4 separate regions of the Homo sapiens genome follow, and all the other regions are linked to region 1. Evidence: promoter capture Hi-C in human tissues and cell types (Jung and others, 2019). All regions are on one chromosome and are shown on one strand. Each heading gives the region's core, a stretch centred on a gene start or on the middle of the fragment in contact. The rest is flanking DNA. Distances are from core to core; before and after follow the strand shown.

What was found. Contacts are between HindIII fragments. The study calls those that stand out against the background at their distance.
Region 2: a fragment that was not itself captured here is called in contact with the fragment with the promoter of FBXW10 in region 1 in 5 of the 25 tissues and cell types used here (adrenal gland, dorsolateral prefrontal cortex, lymphoblastoid cells and 2 more).
Region 3: a fragment that was not itself captured here is called in contact with the fragment with the promoter of FBXW10 in region 1 in 3 of the 25 tissues and cell types used here (lymphoblastoid cells, mesenchymal stem cells and mesendoderm cells).
Region 4: a contact is called between a fragment that was not itself captured here and the fragment with the promoter of FBXW10 in region 1, in 2 of the 25 tissues and cell types used here (dorsolateral prefrontal cortex and mesenchymal stem cells).

What each region holds. Positions count from the first base shown.
Region 1 is chr17:18,742,337-18,745,497 of GRCh38, reverse strand. FBXW10 (F-box and WD repeat domain containing 10) reads right to left here and starts at 1,444. Exons shown (of 14, transcript NM_001267585.2): 1 at 749-1,444. The coding sequence starts at 1,253. The HindIII fragment of the contact is 4,270 bases long and covers 1-3,161 here.
Region 2 is chr17:18,942,409-18,945,569 of GRCh38, reverse strand. It overlaps LOC124904114 (small nucleolar RNA MBII-202), which reads right to left and starts at 1,571; the gene lies at 1,497-1,571. The HindIII fragment of the contact is 4,914 bases long and covers 1-3,161 here.
Region 3 is chr17:18,924,886-18,928,046 of GRCh38, reverse strand. All of the region lies in intron 10 of PRPSAP2 (phosphoribosyl pyrophosphate synthetase associated protein 2), which reads right to left. Among named protein-coding and RNA genes, the nearest start is that of SLC5A10, 26 kb to the left of the region's middle. The HindIII fragment of the contact is 7,921 bases long and covers 1-3,161 here.
Region 4 is chr17:18,898,490-18,901,650 of GRCh38, reverse strand. All of the region lies in intron 8 of PRPSAP2 (phosphoribosyl pyrophosphate synthetase associated protein 2), which reads right to left. Among named protein-coding and RNA genes, the nearest start is that of PRPSAP2, 42 kb to the right of the region's middle. RefSeq lists an enhancer at 919-968. The HindIII fragment of the contact is 5,398 bases long and covers 1-3,161 here.

The sequences.
Region 1 (3,161 bases), core at 195-2,694:
GTTTCAGTGAGCCAAGATCGCACCACTGCACTCCAGCCTGGGTGACAGAGCGAGACTCCATCTCAAAAAAAAAAGAAAAGACATACAGAATCCTGGGCCCACCTCAGACCTGCTGAGTCCGAAGTTCTGGGGGAGGAGCTTGTTTTAACAGGTCCTGCTGGAGATCCTGATACAAGCCACAGCTGGAGAACTACCACCCTAGACTTATTTGGCCCTTAAGCTATCTCCAGCCTTGGAGAAACTCTACTTTAAGGTTTCATTTCATGGATAAGCAAGGAGCATGGTAGAGTGAATGAAAAAAAAAAAAAAAGCCCTAAGTTTTGACTTCTTGGTCTGGTTTCTGTGCAGGGCAGCTGAAGAGAAAAACAAAAGCTTCCCCTTTACAACCCTCTCGAGCTCAGTCCAATCCCTAAAGCAGGAACGACACCAGCATTAAGGGGTCAGGGGCAGGGACCAGCCATTTCTGGGCCTATGAGATGCAGAAATCCATGATAAATGCTTGTGAGTTAAAAGTTGTGTACTTCCTCCTGCATTGATCATTTTCAAGAAGGAAGTTACACTCAGTCATTTCTCCTTTGGTAAACAGGATCGGGTGTCAGGACAAGGTGTCAGTTCAAAAAACCTATGCTGAGTTCTGTGCAATCTCTGTCTACCTATGTTGTCTACAACTGCAGTTCCTTACAGATTTCTGAAGCCTTGCCTTCTGGTCTTCGGGGGCCCTCTAGTCTCTGCCTGTGGCCTTGTTTACCTGAGATATTGTTCTCCTCTCTCAGAAACAGGACTCTGATCACATTGGCAGCAGTGAGCAGTAATTTGGGGTTGCACATCTGCAGCAGTAAGAGAGTATAATTCGCCTTGGTCCACTGGGTGCTGTTCGCAAACCAGTACAAGATCTCTTTCATCTTCTGTTCTACTGTTTTATCCAACATTTGGTTCAAGGAGGACTTCACAACTTTCCCCTCTTTCTTGCTGAGGTTGATCCGGGACCTGTTATAGATGAAATCCTTTCCCTGTGTGGTCTGAAGGATATTTTGGAAATAGTGTAACAAATATAAGCTATTTAACTGCTTCAGAATGCCAACTAGAAACCTCCTCTGTGATATGTCATTGATCCTGCAGAACCACTCTTTGGTAGAGAAGATCTTCCAGGCTAAGACACACGTCTCACACTTCCGGCATAGAGGGATGGAATCGGTTCCCTTCTCACAACGAAAATAGGGGGCATTCTTGAGCCTTGATTCCAGGTTTTCCATGATCCTAAGATAACCAGTCCATTTTAGCCCTGCGCACTTGCAACGGCAACGCCACCAAACACTAGAGGAACGGGGGGAATGAATAAATACCCCAGTTGTGCCTTTTCTATTACAAACGTCTCCCAGAGCAAAAGTAAATGGCTGCCATGGATGGAAAGCCTATCTCTCTCAGTAACTGCCAGCAGAAGTCTGGCTTTTTGTACAGACCTCCTTGGAAACATGGCTTTACCGTAAATCTCCTAAACCTGGCACTGCTTTATGTGGAGGCAGTTGCTGTATATTCTGAAAGAGCTGGTCATCTCATTTCTAGAACAACAAGAATACTGTTAGTCAAATTTAAGTAATATGTGGACTATTACTGGTATTGCACTTTAATTATTGTTGTTATATATGGCTTCTGAATATTCATGAATATAAAATAAGATGCAAACTTCTTATGTTTATATCTGTTCAGTTACAAACTGGCTATCCCAATGATGCTAAATATGTTTATATTCATTTTCTTAAGTCATCATCAAAGTAAAACCAGAAATGTTTAATGTAAATTTAAGTTATTTAACTGCTTCACAATACTAACCAGAAATCTCACTGTAGTCAAAGGGCCCAGGCAAAACATATTGGGCAGCTCACAGAAAGAGTTTCAAAGTCATGCTGAGATAATTCTCCTACTGCAGGTAAGACTCGGTTCAAACATTGACTCTGGTACTTAGGAGCTATATGGTCTCGAGCAGGCAACCTGTCCTCTCTGAGCCTCAGTGTCTCCATCCTAGTTATGAGGATGGAGAAGATAAAGGTGGGTAATAAAAATGATAACTACCTTCTAGGATTGCATTAAATATATGAGATCAGTTGTTGCTGCTATTGTTACTGTTACTAAGTATTATTACCCTAGATAAAATCAAAAGGTTTGCAATATTGTGTGCCTTTCTAATGCCCATGTTGAAAGACCAGGCACAACCAGAGAAAGGTAATGGAGTCCATCGCTGGGGTTTTGTTGGCAATGGCAGTCACATACTAGGGTCAGAATGGGGAATAAGAATCAGGTTAAGAATGAGATCAGTTCTCACAGCTCAACCTCTTCTGTCTGAAGAGGAATCTGGAGAAAAGGCATGAGTAGATTAATATTTAATTAATCGGGAAGGCCAGACAAAGGAGGGTGGCAAAGAGAAGGGAGGCCCGAAGCAGACTCTTTGGATCTGTAAGGCGAGCACGTTACCCTAAGAAGTGCTGCAAGCTAAAAGTAGCTCTTTTTTTTTTTTCGTAATTAACTTGTTTATTTATAATTGACAGATTATAAATAGCTTGTTTTTAAAGATTTAAATAAATTAGGATTTTAATCTATGAGGCTGACATTCTTCAAGGAAGCATTTTTTTTTTTTGGAGGCAGAGTCTCGCTCTATCCCCCAGGCTGGAGGGCAGTGGTGGCATCTCGGCTCACTGCAACCTCTGCTTCCCGGGTTAAAGTGATTCTCCTGCCTCAGCCTCCCGAGTAGCTGGGATTACAGGCATGGGCCACCATGCCCAGCTGAGTTTTATATTTTTAGTAGAGACGAGGTTTTGCCACGTTGGCCAGGCTGGTCTTAAACTCCTGACCTCAAGTGATCCGCCCGCCTCAGCCTCCCAAAGTGCTGGGATTACAGCGTGAGCCACCACCCCAGGCCAAGGAAGCAGTTTTAATCACCCAACTCAGTCTTTATTTCACATTTCAGGGCCACAAACTTGGGAGTCAGAGAGACTAGATTTCAGACATGAGTCTTATCCCCTCTCCCTCAACACTGCACACACACGGTTCTCCTCAAACACCTGTGGACCATAGTATGTTGTTGCCCCTCGGCACCTCCTTTTCTAAACAGCTTCTTTGAGAAGATGACAACGGGCTGCCTCCTGAGAATAGAGGGACAAGGGGTG
Region 2 (3,161 bases), core at 409-2,908, 200 kb before region 1:
TAGGCTGGAGTGCAGGAGCGCAGTCTAGGCTCACAGCAACCAACCTCCACCTCCCGGGCTCAGGTGATTCTCATGCCTCAGACTCCCAAGTGGCTGGGATTACAGGCTAAATTCTGTATTTTGAGTAGAGACAGGGTTTTGTCAGGTTGGCCAGGCTGGTCTCAAACTCCTATCCCCAAGTGCTCCACCACCCCAGCCTCCCACAGTGCTGGAATTACGGATGTGAGCCACCTCACCCAGCCAATTTTTTTCTTTTTTTACTTCTAATAGTACTTTGAAAGAAGCCCTACTTTCAATTCCTTTGGGCATATATTTATGAGTGGAATTGCTGGGTGGTATTCTATGTTAAACTTTGAGGATTGGCCAAACTGTCTTCCAGAAGAGCTGCACCATTTTACATTCCCACCAGCAACGCACTAGACCCCCAGTTTCTCCACATTCTCATGAACACTTGTTATTGTCCATTTTTACATTTTTTTTTTCAGTCAGAGTTTTACTTTACAGCCCAGGCTGGAGTGCAGTGGCACGATCTGGACTCACTGCAACTTCTGCCTCCTGGGCTCAAGGGATCCTCTTGCCTCAGCCCACCAAGTAGCTGGGACCACACGTGCATGTCACACACGCAGCTAATTTTTGTATTTCTGGTAGAGATGGAGTTTCACTGTGTTGCCCAGGCTGCATTTTGACATTATTATGATAGCCGTCCTAGTAGGCGTGAAGTAGCATTTCATTGTGGTTTTGATTTGCATTTCCCTAAGGACTAGTAATGTTGAACATCTTTTCATGTAATTGTTGGCTGTTGAAGGTATGTCTACCTTCCTTGGTAGAGAAATATCCTGACCCACACATGCATAGCCACTGCCATTATCAAAATCCCCAACCAAAAGTTGTTATGCTTGTTACAACTGATGAGCCTGCATTGATACATCTCCCAAAGCACATACATTACATTAGGGTTCACGCTTGGTGTTGTATTCTATGTGTTTGGATAAACATATACTGACATGCATCCACCACTATAATGTCATACAGAGTAGTTTCACTGCCCTAAAAGTCGCCTGCATTCTCCCTATCCTTCCCTCTCTCCTCCCTAACCCTTGGCAACCACTGATCATTTTCTGTTCCCACGGTTTTGCCTTTTCCAAAATGTCATATAGCTGTAATCAAACACTTTGTAGCCTTTTCAAAAGGCTTCTTTGACTTAGTCATCTGTATTTCTGTTTCCTCCATGTGTTCATGGCTTGGTAGCTCATTTCTTTTTAGCACTGAATAATATTCCATTATCTAGATACTATGATTTATTTATTCATTCACCTACTTAAGGACATCTACCAAAGTTTTGGTAATTATGAATAAAGCTGAATTCATAATGAGTAAACATCCATGCACAGGTTTTTGTGTGGACGTAAGTTTTCAACTCCTTTGAATAAATACTCAAGAGTAACTGCTGAATCATATGGTAAGTGTAAGCTTAGTTTTTATGCTTTTTAAAAAATTATTATTTTGCTCAGTTATCAGATGGAAAGGGATTCAAATATACTTGCATCAAAGCACATTTAGATTTGTAAGAAACTTCCAAACTGTCTTCCAAAGTAGCTATACCGGCCAGGCGCGGTGGCTCACGCCTGTAATCCCAGCACTTTGGGAGGCTGAAGTGGGAGGATCACCTGAGGTCAGGAGTTTAAGACCGGCCTGATCAACATGGAGAAACCCTGTCTCTACTAAAAATACAAAAATTAGCTGGGCCTGGGGCACGAGCCTGTAGTCGTAGTTACTCAGGAGACTGAGGCACAAGAATCATTTGAATCCAGAAGGTGGAGGTTGCAGTGAGCTGAGATTGCGCCACTGCATTCCAGCCTGGGCGACAGAGCAAGACTCCGTCTCAAAAAACAAACAAACAAACAAAAAACAACAGGCCGGTGCGGTGGCTCACTCCTGTAATCCCAGCACTTTGGGAGGCCAAGGCAGGTGGATCACCTGAGGTCGGGAGTTGGAGACCAGCCTGGCCAAGATGGTGAAACCTCTTCTCTACTAAAAATACAAAAATTAGCTGGGCATGGTGGCACATGCCTGTAATCCCAGCTACTCAGGACGCTGAGGCAGAATTGCTTGAACCAGGACCCGGGAGGCAGAGGTAGCAATGAGCAAGATCGTGCCACTGCACTTCAGCCTGGGCTACAGAGTGAGACTCTGTCTCAAAACAACAACAACAACAACAACAACAACAAAGTAGCTATACCATTTTGCATTCCCACCAGCAATGAATGAGAGTTCCTGTTGCTCCACATCCTCCCCAGCATTTGGCGTTGTCAGTGTTCTGGATTTTGGCCACTCTAATGGGCTTGCGGTGGTGTCTCTCTGTTGTTTGAATTTGCAATTCCATGATGACATATAATGTTGAGCATCTCACATGCTTATCTGCCATCTTTATATTTTATTCGATGATATGTCTGATCAGATCTTTCACACATTTTAAAATTGTTTTCTTATTTAATTTTTTTTCTTTTGCTTTGTTATTGTTGTTTTGGTTTTTTGACAGGGTCCTGCTCTGTTGCCCAGGCTGGAGTGCAGTGATGTGATCTCAGCTCACTGCAACCTGCACCTCCTGGGCTCAAGCAATCCTTCTACCTCAGCCTCCCAAGTAGCTGGGACTACAGGCGCCTGCCACCACGCCCAGCTAATTTTTTATATTTTCAGTAGAGATGGGGTTTCACCGTGTTAGCCAGGATGGTCTCGATCTCCTGACCTCGTGATCTGCCTGCCTCGGCCTCCCAAAGTGCTGGGATTACAGGCATGAGCCGCAGCACGTGGCCAGTTCTTTCTATATTTTGAACAACACTTCTTTATCAGATATGTCTTTGGGAACTATTTTCTCCCAGTCTGTGTCTTTTCATTCTCTTGACACTGTCTTTTGCAGAGCAGAATTTTTTTTTTTTTTTTTTTGAGATGGGGTCTCACTCTGTCACCAGGGTTGAAGTGCAGTGGCTCAATCTCGGCTCACTGTAACCTCTTCCTCCCTAGCTGAAGCCATCCTCCCACATCAGCACCCCTAGGTAGCTGGGACCACAGGCATGCACCACCATGCCCAGCTAATTTTTTTTTTTCATATCTTTGGTAGAGACAGTGTTTTTCCTTGTTGCCCAGGCTGATCTCAAACTCCT
Region 3 (3,161 bases), core at 331-2,830, 180 kb before region 1:
TTTGGGAGGCTGAGGTGGGAGGATTGCTTGAGCTCAGGGGTTCAAGACCAGCCTGAGCAACATGACGAAACCCAGTCTCTACAAAAACAGAAAAGCAAAAATTAGCCATGCATGGAGGTACGCACCTGTAGTCCTAGCTACTTGGGAGGCTGAGGCAGGAGGATTGCTTTAGCCAGGAGGTAGAAGTTGCAGTGATCTGTGATCAAGCCACTGCACTCCAACCTGGGCAGCAGACCCAGACCATACCTCAAAAAAAATACATACACACACACACACGCTACTTTAAAAGTCCTACTAGTAAAATGGTACAGCCACTTTGGAAAACAGTTTGACAGTCTCTTATAAGAGTATATCTGCAACTACCATGCAAACCAACAACTGCATTTGTAAGTGCAATTATCCCAGAGAAATTAAAACTCTGTTCACACAAAAACCTATACATGAATGTACATAGCGAGTTTTATGTATAATAGCCCCAACCTGGAAATCATCCAAATGTCCTTCAACAAATAAACTCTGGTACCTCTATACCATGGGATACTGCCCAGCAATAAAAAGGAATAACATATTAATATACAAAACAACCTGGATGGATCTCAGGGGAATCATGGTAGGTTAAACAAAACTCAAAAGGTTATATACCATAGATTCCATTTATATGACATTCTTGAAATAATAATTAGAAAGACAGGGGACAGATCAGTGGTTGCCAGTGCTGTGGCTTGAATGTTTTTGTCCCTCCAAAATTCATGTGTTGGAAACTTATTCCCCAGTGCAACAGTGTTGGGTGGTGGGGTCTTTGGGAAAGTGTTTAGGTTGTGAGGGATCCACCATCAGGAATGAATTCATGTCGCTATAAAAAGGCTTGTGGGAGTGGGTTAACCTCTTTCCTGGCCTTCTGAAGGAAAGTTCATTCCTTTTTGTCCTTCTGCCTTATGCCATGTGAGGACACAGCAAGAAGGCCCTCACCAGACCAAATGCTGGTGCCATGATTTGGACTTACAGCCTCTAGAGCTGTTAGAGAATAAATTTCTTCTATTCTTTATAAACAACCTAGTCTCAGGTGTTACAGCAGCACAAAGTGGACAAAGACACAAGGGGTTGCAGATTGGGTGGGAAGGATGTCAGTGTAGCTATGAAAGGAAGCATGAGGGTGCCTTGCAGTGAAGGAGCAATTCTGTGTCCTGACTGTGGTGGTGGTTCCACAAAGCTACCCATGGTAAGACTGCATTCACAAACACAAACACACACACACACACACACACACACTCACACTCACTACATGCACAACTGGTGCTGTCTGAAGGACCTCTGTGGCTGTGGCACCGAGAATTTTCAGTCTGTGTTATTGTACTATAGTTAAGCAAGATGGAGGATGCTGGGTAATGAATACACAGGATGTCCCTGTGTATTGCCCCCTACTTCCTGTGGATCTATAATTACTTCAAAATAAAAACGTTTTTTTAAAAAATGCACTGGCGGCTGGGTGCAGTGGCTTGCGCCTGTAATCCCAGCACTTTGGGAGGCCAAGGCGGGCAGATCACGAGGTCAGGAGTTCGAAACCAGCCTGGTGAATATGGTGAAACCCCGTCTCTACAAAAAAAATACAAAAATTAGCCGGACGTGGTGGCGTGCACCTGTAGTCCCAGCTACTTGGGAGGCTGAGGCAGGAGAATTGCTGGAACCCAGGAGGTGGAGGTTGCAGTGAGCTGAGATCACGCCACTGCACTCCAGCCTGGGTGACAGAGCGAGACTTTGTCTCAAAAAAAAAAATAGAAATAAATAAATAAATAAATAAATAAATAAATAATGCAGTGGCACTAGAACGGGGGGAAAGGTGCTACTGAATCCACAGCACCTTGTTACTATAGACTTTGCCAACTAAGGAATAAGTAATGGACAGCTATTACCCTGGAGGGTGACGTGAGAGATTTTCTTATTTTTTTTTTGAGACAGAGTCTTGCTCAGTCGCCTGGGCTGGAGTGCAGTGGCACGATCTCGGCTCACTGCAAGCTCCGCCTCTCATGCCATCTCCTGCCTCAGCCTCCCGAGTAGCTGGGACTACAGGAGCCCACCACTACGCCCGGCTAATTTTTTGTATTTTTAGTAGAGACAAGGTTTCACCGTGTTAGCCAGGATGGTCTCGATCTCCTGACCTACACCCGTCTCGGCCTCCCAAAGTGCTGGGATTACAGAAGTGAGCCACCGTGCCCGGCCCCAGAGAGATTTTCTAACCTGAAAAGGGTGCGTACAAAATTATCAAGCACTGGGGATAATGTGGGGCACCCACTATGGAACTTGGGAAATGGGTGTGACCACTTTGGAAACAATTTGGCAGCACCTTGTAAAGTTAAAAATGTGCATACCTTCAGACCCAACAACCCCACTCCCAGGCACCTTGAAACTCTCACACTTTTGCACCAGAAAATAGGCACGAGGATGTTCAAAGCAGTACCATTGCCTCAATCAGTTGTGTAGCAGTTATACCAAAGACACAACACATAGCAGTGAAAAAGAATGAAGTACAACTTCCTGCCACTACACAGGTAAATTTCAATAACAGTGTTGAGCAAGAAAGTCCCAAAGTACACAAAGACATCATTTACATAAACATCAAAGACAAGAAAAAAAGGCAGCATTTAAGGCCACAAGCCCTCATGGCTGACTACAGGATCAAGATGGGCAGCTTTCACATCAGTGACAACCTCTGAGGCAAAGAGACCAGGGTAAGCCCAGAGGAGGCCTCTAGGTACCTGGTGATGATCTATGCCTCAAGTGAGCTAGCGGGTACCCAGTGTTCATTCTATTCTTTAAAATATACAGGCATGAAGTGCACTCTTTTTGTGCACTGGTCTTATGATGTGTGAAAGGATGCATGTTTCAAACAGTTATAATCAACTTTGTAGTTTACTTTTTTTTTTTCTTTTGAGATGGAATCTCACTCTTTCGCCCAGGCTAGAGTGCAGTGGCACAATCTTGGCTCACTGCAACCTCCGCCTCCCAGATTCAAGCGATTCTCCAAGATCAGCCTCCCAAGTAGCTGGGATTACAGGTGTGCGCCAACATGTCCAGCTAATTTTTGTATTTTCAGTAGAGATGGGGTTTCACCATGTTGGCCAGGCTGGTCTTCAACTCCTGACCTCAGGTGATCTGCCTGCCTT
Region 4 (3,161 bases), core at 257-2,756, 160 kb before region 1:
TAATCCTAGCACTCTGGGAGGCTGAGGCAGGCAGATCACGAGGTCAGGAGATAGAGACCATCCTTGCTAACATGGTGAAACTGTCTCCACTAAAAATACAAAAATTAGCCAGGCATAGTGGCAGACGCCTGTAGTCCCAGCTACTCGGGAGGCTGAGGCAGGAGAATGGCATGAACCCGGGAGGCGGAGTTTGCAGTGAGCCAAGATCGTGCCACTGCACTCCAGCCTGGGTGACAGAGCGAGATTCCGTCTCAAAAAAAAATGAGAAGACACTAAAAGGTAGAGAGAAGGCAGACTAGCAAGGGACCTCAGGACCTGAGCAACGTCACGGTGGTGGCTTCCTTGGGCATTCCTTTTGCCTTATTATCCCAGATTTGTAGCTGGAGAAGAAGCGACCCAAAAATGCCAGTGGGCAAAGACAAGAAAAGCTCCAACAAAGGTCGGCTCTCCCTAGTCAAAGGACTAAGAAAAGGGCAACCTAGTGAGTGAGAAAATATTTAGACAATAACTGCCTTACTCTAGCCACACAGGCAGGAAAGCCACAGCCCACGTTTCCGCCACATTTCCGCCGCATGAGTAAAGGTTGAGGGGTGAGCCTGTACTTCCTGGCTTGTCAGGCTATAATGAGGCACCCCAAACCCAATGGGGTGGTTTCACAGAAGGCCAAACAGGGAGCTGGGACTTTCACCCTCACTCAGCAGTAAGGAGCAACTGCCAGAGTCAGTGGAGAGTGAAATCTGGACTTCTACCCCCAACTCAGCAGTAAAGAGGTGCCCCTCCCCTCTCCATTGCAGTGGTATCAGAGGCAGCCTGGTGGAGTCAGGAATTCCACCACCACCCAATGAGAATGATGCTACTTTTCCTTGGCGTCAGCGGAGGACATGGAGGGAGCATTTCCACCCATGAGTAACAAGGACCACCTTAGGTGGTCCACACAAGGCCTGGTGGTGAATCTCGACTTCTACCCTTACCTAGCAGAAACGAGCCCCAACACCACCACTTTCCCTGCCAGAGTCCTGAGAAGCCAGCAAAATCAGAAGGCCTAAATGAGACCCAGAGTCTCACACACAATATCTAAAAGTCCAGATTCCAATCAGAAGCCACTCGCCACACTAAAGGCCAGTGAAATCTCAATATGAATGAAAAAAGACAATTAACAGATGCCAACACCAAGATGACAGACATGCTGAAACTGTATAACAAAGATTTTAGAGCAGCCATCAGAAAAGTGCTACAAGCAGCAATTATGAGCATGTGTGAAATAAAAAACAAGAAGTCTAAACAAAGAAAGTATTGACAAAAAAATAGAAGGTATAAAAAAAGACCCAAGGCCAGGCGTAGTGTCTCATGACTGTAATTCCAGTACTTTGGGAGGCCGAGGCAGGCAGATCACTTGAGGCCAGGAGTTTGAAACCAGCCTGGCCAACATGGCAAAACCCCGTCTCTACTAAAAATACAAAATTAGCAGCCAGGCACGGTGGCTCACGCCTGTAATCCCAGCAGTCTGGGAGGCTGAGGCGGGCAGATCACGAGGTCAGAAGTTCAAGACCAGCCTGACCAACATGGTGAAACCCCATCTCTACTAAAAATACAAAAATTAGCCGGGCGTGGTGGCAGATGCCTGTAATCCCAGCTCCTCAGGAGGCTGAGGCATAAGGATCACTTGAACCCAGGGAGCGGAGGTTGCAGTGAGCTGTGATAACACCACTGTACTCCAGCCTGGGCAACAGAGCGAGACTCAGTCTCAAAAAAAGAGAACCAAAAACTTATTTTAGAACTTAAAAAATACAATAACCAAATTAAAAAGCTCAGTTGGGCTGGGGGTGGTGGCTCACACCTGTAATCCCAGCACTTTAGAGAAGCTGAGGTGGGCAGATCACTTGAGCTCAGGAGTTCAAGACCAGCCTGGGCAATATGGTAAAATCCCCGTCTCTACCAAAAATACCAAAAATAAATTCGCAAGACACGGTGGCATGCACCTGTAGTCCCAGCTTCTTGGGAGGCGGATGTGGGAGGATTGCTTGAGCCTAGGAGGCAGAGGTTGCAGTGAGCTGTGATCATACCACTACACTCCAGCCTGGGCAACAGAGGTGAGACCCTGTCTCAAAAAAAAAAAAAAAAAAAAAAAAAACTCAGTTGGATATACTCAACAGCAGAATGGAAGTTACAGTGAAAATAATAATGGAGGTCAAGGAAAGAATCAGTGAACTGGAAGACAGACAACAGAAATTAGCCAATTTGGACAACAGAGAGAACAATGGCTGTGGCAGGGCATGGTGGCATGTGCTTGTAGTTTCAGCTACTCTGGAGGCTAAGATGGGAGAATCACTTGAGCCCAGGGGTTCAAGACCAGCCTGAGTAACATAGTGAGACCCACTAAAAAATAAAAATATAAAAGACTAGAAAATAAAAATAAACAGAATCCCATGGACCTGTAACAAAAGATCAGCTGGGCACGGTGGCTCACACCTGTAATCCCAGCACTTTGGGAGGCCAAGGTGGGTGGATCACCTGAGGTCGGAAGTTCAAGACCAGCCTGACCAACATGGAGAAACCCCGTCTCTACTAAATATACAAAAGTAGCTGGGCGTGGTGGTGCATGCCTGTAATCCCAGCTACTTGGGAGGCTGAGGCAGGAGAATCGCTTGAACCCAAGAGGCAGAGGTTGCAACGGTGAGCCAAGATCACGCCATTGCACTCCAGCCTGGGCAACAAGAATGAAACTCCATCTCAAACAAACAAACAAACAAACAAACAAACAAACACCTGACATTTATGTCATAAGAGTCCCAGAAAAAGAGGAGAAAGACGGTAGGACTAAAAAAGTACTCAAAAAGACAATGGCTGAAAGCTTCCCAAATTGGTCAGAGACATAAACCCACAGCTTCAAGAAGTCCAGCAAACACCAAACAGGATAAACCCAAAGCAATCTCAAGATATATCATAATTAAACTTTTGAAAACTAAAGACAAAGAAATAATCTTGAAAAATAATTCATGATAACCAACTTCTCATCAGAAACCACAGTGACCAAAAGAAAGTGACACAAAAACTTTTCAGGTGCTGAGAGAAAAGAACCGTTACTCCAGAATCCTATACCCAGCAACGATGTCCTTCAAGAATGAAAAGGAACTCTAGACATTCTCAAATGAAGGAAAACC